Regions from separate parts of the Homo sapiens genome. Here region 1 is linked to region 2. The links are contacts of gene promoters, found by promoter capture Hi-C in blood cells and fetal thymus (Javierre and others, 2016). All regions are on one chromosome and are shown on one strand. Each heading gives the region's core, a stretch centred on a gene start or on the middle of the fragment in contact. The rest is flanking DNA. Distances are from core to core; before and after follow the strand shown.

Region 1 (4,511 bases), core at 1,991-4,490, 270 kb after region 2:
GCTGGGACTACAGGTGGCTAATTTTTGTATTTTTTGTAGAGACAGGGTTTAACCATGTTGCCCAGGCTGGTCTCGAATGAATTCCTGGACTCAAGCAGTCTGCCCACCTCAGCCTCTCAAAGTGCTGGGATTACAGGCATTAGCCACCATGCCTAGAAATGATTTTAATAACATTTTCTTTTCTCTAGCTTACTTTATTGTAAGAATACACTACTTAATACATATCAAAATATGTGTTAATCAGCTGTTTATGTTATTCATAAGGCTTCCAGTCAACTGTAGGCTAATTAGTAGTTAAGCTTTTAGGGAGCCAAAAGTCATGTAGATATTTTACCCCTAAACCTCACAGTGTTTGAAGGTTAACTAATACAAACATCAAAATGAATGGAAACTTTATAAAGGAGTATATGCTATATGATTATATTTAAATCAAATTGAAAAGCAGACAAAACAAATGCAGGGTGTTACAAGTCAGAACAGTGATGACTTTTAAGGGAGGTAGTAGCTGAAAGGGGAAAGGAGAGGAGTTCTAGACAGCTGGTCTTAATCTGTTACATGTGTTCACTTTATGAAAATGCACTGAACTAGGCCGGGCACGGTGGCTCACGCCTGTAATCCCAGCACTTTGAGAGGCCGAGGCAGGTAGATCACCTAAGGTCAGGAGTTTGAGCCCAGCCTGGCCAACATGGTGAAACCCCGTCTCTACTAAAAACGTACAAAAATTAGCTGGGCGTGGTGGTGCGCCAGCTACTCGGGAGGCTGAAGCAGGAGAATCGCTTGAACCCAGGAGATGGAGGTTCCAGTGAGCCGAGATCGCGCCATTGCATTCCAGCCTGGGCGACAAGAGCAAAACTCCATCTCAAAAAAAAAAGAAAAAAGAAAAGAAAATGCACTAAACTGTACTAATAATGTCTGCCTTTTTCAGTCTGTTAGACTCCAATAACAATTTTTAGAAAGAACTATTAAAAAGGGGGACGGAAGGAAGGTGAAGAAATATAAGTGAGCTCAAATTCAACAGTGTCAAGTGCCGATAAATCTGGAAGTCACAGAATAAGCTCATTATTTGTAAGAACTAAAACATTGTCTTTGCACATTACATTAATATTCTGTCCACGCTTATGACTTTTGATAGCCCTGAGCAAAGTAAGGGTTCACGTTCAGACTTCAATTTAGTTTGAATGATTAGAGCTGCGTACTCAATACACATCTGTTTCCTTTGCAAATATATCCTAGTCCTGGACCAGTTCCACATGAATTTAATGTTTTTTTCTGGGCAAATAAAAGATTAAATACCTATCATGATTAAACATTTAAACAAGTGAGCTACTGGTGTGTATTAAAAATAGAGCTTTTTAAAGGATATCCCCAAACTTACCACTTGTAGTAGGTACTAAAACTAAAAGGAGCATATTGAGGAGGTGAGGAGCTAGAAATTATGATAAAAGTAACAAATAATAAAAACAGCTCTGTAATTGCTAGAATGTTACTATAAGGGGCAGTTACCCATCCAAACTTAATAACTAGCAAAACAAAAAAAATATGTCATAGAATATAAAGTATCTTTTTTCTTTTTGCTGGGCGCCATGGCTCAGGCCTGTAATCCTAGCACTTTGGGAGGCTGAAGGTGGGGGTGGGTAGTGGGGGTGGAGGGGAACACAAGGTCAGGAGTTTGAGACCAGCCTGGACAATATGGTGAAACCACATCTCTACTGAAAATAAATAAATAAATAAAAAATACAAAATACAAAAAGTAGCCGGGCGTGGTGGTGGGTGCCTGTAGTGCCAGCTACTCAGGAGGCTGAGGCAGGAGAAACGCTTGAACCCGGGAGGCAGAGGGGCCAAGATCACGCCACTGCACTCCAGCCTGAGGGACAGAGTGAGACTCCATCTCAAAAAAAAAAAAAAAAAAAGTTGTGTTTTTGTTTTTTTGTTTTTTTTTACTTTAAGTCCTGGGATACATGTGCAGAACATGCAGGTTTGTTAAACACACGTGCAGAACATGCAGGTTTGTTACATACATGTGCAGAACATGCAGGTTGTATACACATGCTGTGGTGGCTTGCTGTACCTATCAACCCATCATTTAGGTTTTAAGCTAAAACATCTTTTTAATCATGCCAATGATAATACTTTTACCTAATATAATTGATTCATCTACCAGAAATAACACAGGAACCAACATCAGTAACTAAACCTTTTTGAAAAATCACCTCCACGAAAATCTTACAATTAAAATTTAAAATTACTTCAGCTCCTTAAATTTTCACCAGTCTGATATCTACATTCTTATAGGAAGACGTTTTAATAGCCTACAGTAGTCAACTCTAACTGATGAATTCCAAGGGATTCCAATCAAAATGCCAATCATAAATTTTCTAGAAAATGATGAATGACTTCAGAATACACTGAGAAGCATGAGAATGAATAGCTATGAAAATTCTAAAAACAAGAATTACAAAGAATCTGCCTCAATATTATGACATATAAAGATACAGTGAAACAATATGCCACAGTTGCCAAAAGACACATCAATGGAGCAAAAGACAGCCCAACAACAGACCCAAGACTGTGATAAAATTTAGACATAGCATTTGTATCTGTGGAGAAAAGACAGGTGATTTAATAAAAAATGATGAAACAATTGTCTAGCTTTTTGCTTTAAAAAAAAAAAAAAAAAGGTTCCCAGCCAGATGTGGTGGCCCACGCCTGTAATCCCAGCACTTTGGGAGGCCAAGGCGGGCAGATCATGAGGTCAAGATATCGAGACCATCCTGGCCAACATGGTGAAACCCGTCTCTACTAAAAATACAAAAATTAGCTGGGCATGGTGTGCCTGTAGTCCCAGCTACTCAGGAGGCTGAGGCAGGAGAATTGCTTGAACCTGGAGGTGGAGGTTGTAGTGAGCCAAGATCATGCCACTGCACTTCAGCCTGGTGACAGAGGGAGACTCCGTCTCAAAAAAAAAAAAAAAAAAGAAAAAAAGAAAAAAGAAAAAGAAAAAAAAGTTCCCTAACATCCCCCATCTTTACCTTTTCCTATTAATATGAAATGTACAATATATATTCAAGTTAACTACATGTGGATCAAAATACTAAAAAGTCAAAGATGTAAAATGGGTTGCAAGTTAAGAGGGTCAAGCAGCTAACTAAATGTGTGAATCTGGCTGTGCAGAGAACTGTAACGAATTGAAAAGCGTCAGTGCTTTCTCAATTTTTTTTTTTTGTGACATCAAGTCTCTGGGGCAAACGGACAAAGCAGATGATGTCTGCAGGAGGAAATTAGATAGGAGCTCTGGCTGACCTTTAGGCTGGGGGGCGGGGAATCAACATCGTGGCACACCTGAAAAGCATTTGATGGCACACCAATTGGGAAGTTCTGAATTAGAAAGCCTGTGTTCCGCTTAAAAGAGCCGAAGCTATTCAATTCTTTCTGAGCATTGCTATATGACAATGCAAGCCCAGGGTTGCTAAATCTTACATTTTTCATGAGAAGATAGAAGATTGTTATGTAAAAAACACTGGCAGATAATTTCTTTCAGAATTCCGTGACAGGCTAACCAAAACCCATATGTTGACCAGATCTGTCCCACAGTCCACCAGCTTACAAGTTCTGATTTAAATGCAAAAATGAAATCGTACAAGTGCCAGCAAAGAACACATGACATTATTTTCACAATCTTGGAGGAGGAAAGACCTTTCTAAGCACAATCAAGCCAGAACCCATAAAGGACAAGACATTTAACTACATAAAAATGTAAAACGTATGTGTAAACCCAACATTATGAATAAACCTAAAGACAAATGACAACAGCTTTCCCCCAGGCTCTAGCAGAATGTGAACTGCAGCAGCCAGGGTCAACTAACTGTCTTCCCTTTGGTGAGGGGAGAGAGTAAACCAAGTTTAGCAGCCCACAATGATGACCAGGAATTGAATAATTTCCTAAATGAACCAGAAAGGGGGAGAAGTAGGAGAACATTTGGGATGGTCCACAATTGCAGGCACCATCATCTATTCTGTTGCATTATAAATAAGTCTGAGTCTACATTTCTTATAATGTTTTTATTTTTTAGACTAGTGAAATGCAGTAGCAAGAAGTGGGAAAAGAATTCTATTATAAATAGAAATTATGGCTGGGCACAGCGGCTCACGCCTGTAATCCCAGCACTTTGGGAGGCCAAGGCAGGTGGATCACCTGAGGTTAGGAATTCGGGGCCAGCCTGCCAACATGGTGAAACCCCGTCTCTACCAAAAATTAGCCAGGTGTCGGGGCATGCGCCTGTAGTCCCAGCTAATTGGGAGGCTGAGGCAGGGGAATCCCTTGAACCCGGGAGGCAGAGGTTGCAGTGAGCCAAGATCATGGCACTGCACTCCAGCCGGGGCAACAATAGCGAAACTTTGTCTTAAAAAAATAATAATACCTCGGGATGAGACATGGGCAGCATCTGCCTTGTCCGGTGCTGGCCCAAGTCCCATCCCTGCCCTGCTCCCTTTCAGAACTGCACCTACTACTG
Region 2 (4,430 bases), core at 1,019-3,518:
TAGGCCGGGCGTGGTGGCTCATGCCTGTAATCCCAGCACTTTGGGAGGCTGAGGCGAGTGGATCACTTGAGGTCAGGTGTTCGAGACCAGCCTGGCCAACATGGTAAAACCCTGTCTCTACTAAAAATGCAAAAATTAGCCGGGCGTGGTGGCAGACACCTGTAATCCCAACTATTGCAGAGGCTGAGGCAGGAGAATCACTTGAACCTGGGAGGTGGAGGTTGCAGTGAGCTGAGATTGTGCCACTGCACTCCAGCCTGGGCGACAAGAGCAAAACTCCGTCTCAAAAAAATAAAATAAAATAAATAAATAAATAAAATACATATTGTGTTTTATGTTTAATAAAGGGAATACAGGGAAGCTTTCCCTTTTCCCTTGGAAGGTTCACTGAAAAATCAACTGTCAAATGGCAGACTAATAGGAAAAAAGACATACAAAATTTATTTTAATGTGCATAACACAGGGAGATTTCAGGAGAATGATTACCCAATGACTCAATGGGGTAGAGACGTTTATATACTCTTCTTTATGGGGGAAAGGGAGATTGGGGAAATGTGGCAACTTAAGGTATAGTAAAGGACTTTTAGGGGAAAATGGGGAACATACAATGGCCTGGGAAAAAGTGTGTTGAGCCCATACAGCAGACAATAGTTTGTGACAAAAGTCTGTCCAAGAGTGTTGACAGACTTCAGTCTTTCTTCCTCCAATATGAGTTAAGTAAATGAAAAATCAGGTAAGGCAAATATGTTCCTCTTTGGCAGGTCTAGTTTCTAGGCAGATAAGGGAAATTCAGAGAACGACATCATTTGGTGCTTTGGGAGAGACAAAGAATTGAGAGGCAGGAGGGGTAATGGGGAAGGTAAGAGACACCTTGAAGCTGCTTCCTCAGTTCAGCGCGGCAAAGCACCATATTTTGGGGTATCGATTTCTGAGTCCCAACAATTTTTACATCACGTTCCAGACACATTTTATGACTTTTCTTCACTGCATACTTCTTTAAAACTCATCTTACTCTATTTTTCTAAAGGTATTTGCATTAAATGTGCAAAATACTAATGCTCTAAAGAGGAATATTTTGAAATATTAAGAATTATTTATATTTCAATGTAAAAAATGTGATTTTTTTTCTAGAAATAAAATTTCAAATTCAAATAGTTGCTTTGGGGTTTTTATAGAAGATGCATATATATATACAGATATATATATGTTCATTTCTATTAAAATCAATGTGCTAATGTTCATATGTGTTAATATTAATAAAGGTCCTAGGATTAAATTTATTCTGAAATAGACTCCTAGGATTGTGAAAGTTTGAGGTTAGTCTGGCAAAAGACACATTTAGGGGAATATCTTTCTTTAAAAAAAATTTTGTTTTTTTGCTGTCTCTTGATCTCCCGCCTCACACATTCCACTTTATTGACATTATAGAAAAATTAATTCATTTCAACAGCACTTTTACTTGCATTGCTTTTTTTTTTTTTTTTTTTTTTTTTAGACGGAGTCTTGCTCTGTCGCCAGGCTGGAGTGCAATGGCACAATCTCAGCTCACTGCAACCTCCGACTCCCGGGTTCAAGCAATTCTCCTGCCTCAGCCTTGCGAATAGCTGGGATTGGTGGCACGCACAACCACGCCCAGCTAATTTTTGTATTTTTAGTACAGACGGAGTTTCACCATGTTGGCCAGGATGGTCTCGACTCCTGACCTCGTGATGCGCCCGCCTCAGCCTCCCAAAGTGCTGGGATTACAGGCGTGAGCCACCGCGCATGGCCACTTGCACTGCTTTTTAGCAGCGAGCTCTCAGGTCAATCAACTGCTTCCTTAGGTTTACAAACTGTGGGTGTGTATTTATAAACACAGTTGTTTTGTATATCCTTTGTAGAGCACGTGGTGAAAGTGACACAGGAATAAATGCAAACCTTTTTTTCCCCTTCTTTTTTCAAAGACATAAATCCCAGGAACACTCACAACCGCAGAAGGGGATTTGATGGACATACAAAGAAACTAAATTTTGTACCGCCGCAGAAGTGAAGCATGGATAAGCTCAAAGGTATTTAGGCAGTGTTTTATTTCAAGATTTGTTATGGGGACCTCCGCCACGCCCTGGTCCGCCTTCACCAGGCCGGGCAACACTGCCCAGTCCCTGAGACCCGGCCGCCCACTAGGGAGCCGCGGGGGCGAGGCCGTGGGGGTGGCCTCGGGGAGGAGGTCCCGAGAACCACACTTCCCAGAGTGCCGTGCGCAGCCCCGCCCAGCCCGCCCCGCCCCCAGAGGCCGCGGCTCGCGGGGGCTGAGGCGAGAGGACGCCAAGCGCCCGCCGGGGCTCCGCGGGGCCGCGCAGGAGAGCGCGCGTCCGCCGGGTGCTCGCGCGGGGTTGGTGAGGTTCCGCTGAGGGCGGCCGGGGCTCTGGGAGCGTGGTAACGTGGCTGCAACCTTAGCGACATCAGGAAGAACAGGGTCGAGGATCGAGGTAACGGGACGCTCGTCTCCCCTCAGTCCCCTCGTCTCCCCTCAGTCCCCTCTTCCTTTGTGCGGTGCCGTCCGCTCGCGCCGAGCCCTCCCTCACCCCAGCCCCCAAGTCGCAACACCGTCCCGTCTTGGGTCTCCGGTGTGCGGAGGAAATTCGAGCCCTCGTGCACCAACCGAAACTCCACAGCTGAGAGGGCTTGGGGCCCGGACAGCAGGAGATCCAGCCCCTGAGCAACCTTCCACGGCTTTTGTCGCCCCCATTGGCGGGAGGAGCAGGGTTATGCTCCCGGCTCCCGTAGGGGAGCTCCAGCCTCTGGCTCTGTCAGCCTCCCCGGCAGCTCCTTGACTCCTTCCTCCCAGTCTTTCGAAGAGGGGCCCAGGCAGGTGCTTCGCGGGGTCCAGGAAGAGGGCAGGCGCGGTGCGGCTGGCGCGGGTTCGGGGCCCCGGGAGGGCGGCCGGACGCCCCCTGGAGCCGCGGCCTGCGGGGGCGGGGCGAGTGGGCCACCTCCGGGCCACGCCGCGCGGGGACGAGGCGAGGAAGGCACTGCCTGTCCCCACTCGGGGGGCTTGCTGGCCGCCCTGGAGGTGCCTTCCCGGGAGCGGCGGTGTAGACCTTGTGGAGAGTGCCTCCTGATGTGGAACCAGGAACCGCAGCCTCTTTCTAGACGCTCAGCCGCCCGGTGGAGTTGTTACCGCCACGATGACAGCTCTTTACGCCTTCCACTCCGTGCTGGGTTCAGTTGGCTTGCTGTTTTCTTCAGAGAGAGCGATTTGGCTACATAGCTTGAATTTTCTACGTGTCTCGTGCTTTACTGGACTTGCACTGTTTTTCCCTCTTGGCAGTGTTTAATCGGGTGACTTTTCATAGAAAACGTTCAGTATTTTCATCTGTGTTAATGGCATAACTTTCTTCTTGACTCTGCCCTAAGCTAATGTTACCAGTTTAGAGGGATACTTTGGGAAAAGGTCCTTAGAACCTGGGTTGACATAAGTATTTTATCTGCTGGTTGCACGTTTTTTCCTTTGCATTGTTTTTCTCCTATACAAGATGGTAATTGTTGGACTCTTGGTGTTCTTTATTCTCTCTCTAGAAGGAAATCCTCTTCGCGCATCTTTCTCGTGTTCTGGCCCTGCGGTACTCTTGGGTACGCAGAGGACTGCTGCTAACAGTGCTGGCGCCTGGAACGCTGCTTGGAGATGGCGGTGGCATTAAGCTGCTGCTTTTCCTCAGACTTCCTCCTGGCACCCTTCTTAATTTGTCAAACTGACCCAGTTCAAACTTCAAACTTTTAGTCACTTTATTTATTTCGTCACTTTTTAAAAAAATTGCTTTCAAGATACCAAAATTGCGTAAGCCTAAATATAAAAAGAGGTGTCTCAGGGGCCGGGTGCAGTGGCTCACGCCTGTAATCCCAGCACTTTGGGAGATTGAGGCGGGGGGATCACTTGAGGTCAGGATTTTCGAGACCAGTCTGGCCAACATGGTGAAACCCCATCTCTACTAAAAATAACAAAAATTAGCTGAGCGTGGTGGCACATGCCTGTAGTCTCAGCTACTCGAGAGGCTAAGACAGGAGAATGGCTTGAACCCGGGAGGCGGAGGTTGCAGTGAACCGAGATCATGCCACTGCGCTCCAGCCTGGGCGACAGAGTGAGACTCCATCTCAAAAAAAGAAAAAAAAAGTCTAAGGATACTCTATTCAACTACATATGAGCACTTAGCTTCATCATTTTAATTTTTAAAGCTGCCAATTCTTTTAGCATTTGATAAGATTACTGATAATTGGTTAAGATGATATATTCTGTAATAATTGCACATTTTTTGACAAGAAACTCAGTTCACATTCAGTGAGGGTTATTTTTTAAAAACAGTATTTCTTCATTCATTAAGAAGAAAGTTAGGGCCGGGCGCGGTGGCTCACGCCTGTAATCCCAACACTTTGGGAGGCCGAGGCGGGCGGAT

What was found. The method cuts DNA at HindIII sites, captures the fragments that hold promoters and counts their contacts. A CHiCAGO score of 5 or more calls a contact.
Region 1: a contact is called between a fragment that was not itself captured here and the fragment with the promoter of KLHL8 in region 2, in 1 of 17 cell types (naive CD8 T cells). The highest score is 5.3, in naive CD8 T cells.

The regions. Positions count from the first base shown.
Region 1 is chr4:86,950,087-86,954,597 of GRCh38, reverse strand. The region is part of intron 2 of AFF1 (ALF transcription elongation factor 1); the gene reads right to left. It also overlaps the pseudogene TECRP1. Among named protein-coding and RNA genes, the nearest start is that of AFF1, 17 kb to the right of the region's middle. The HindIII fragment of the contact is 5,877 bases long and covers 302-4,511 here.
Region 2 is chr4:87,218,456-87,222,885 of GRCh38, reverse strand. It overlaps KLHL8 (kelch like family member 8), which reads left to right and starts at 2,268. Exons shown (of 10, transcript NM_020803.5): 1 at 2,268-2,468. RefSeq lists silencers at 2,049-2,538, 2,879-3,148 and an enhancer at 2,654-3,266. The HindIII fragment of the contact is 8,812 bases long and covers 364-4,430 here.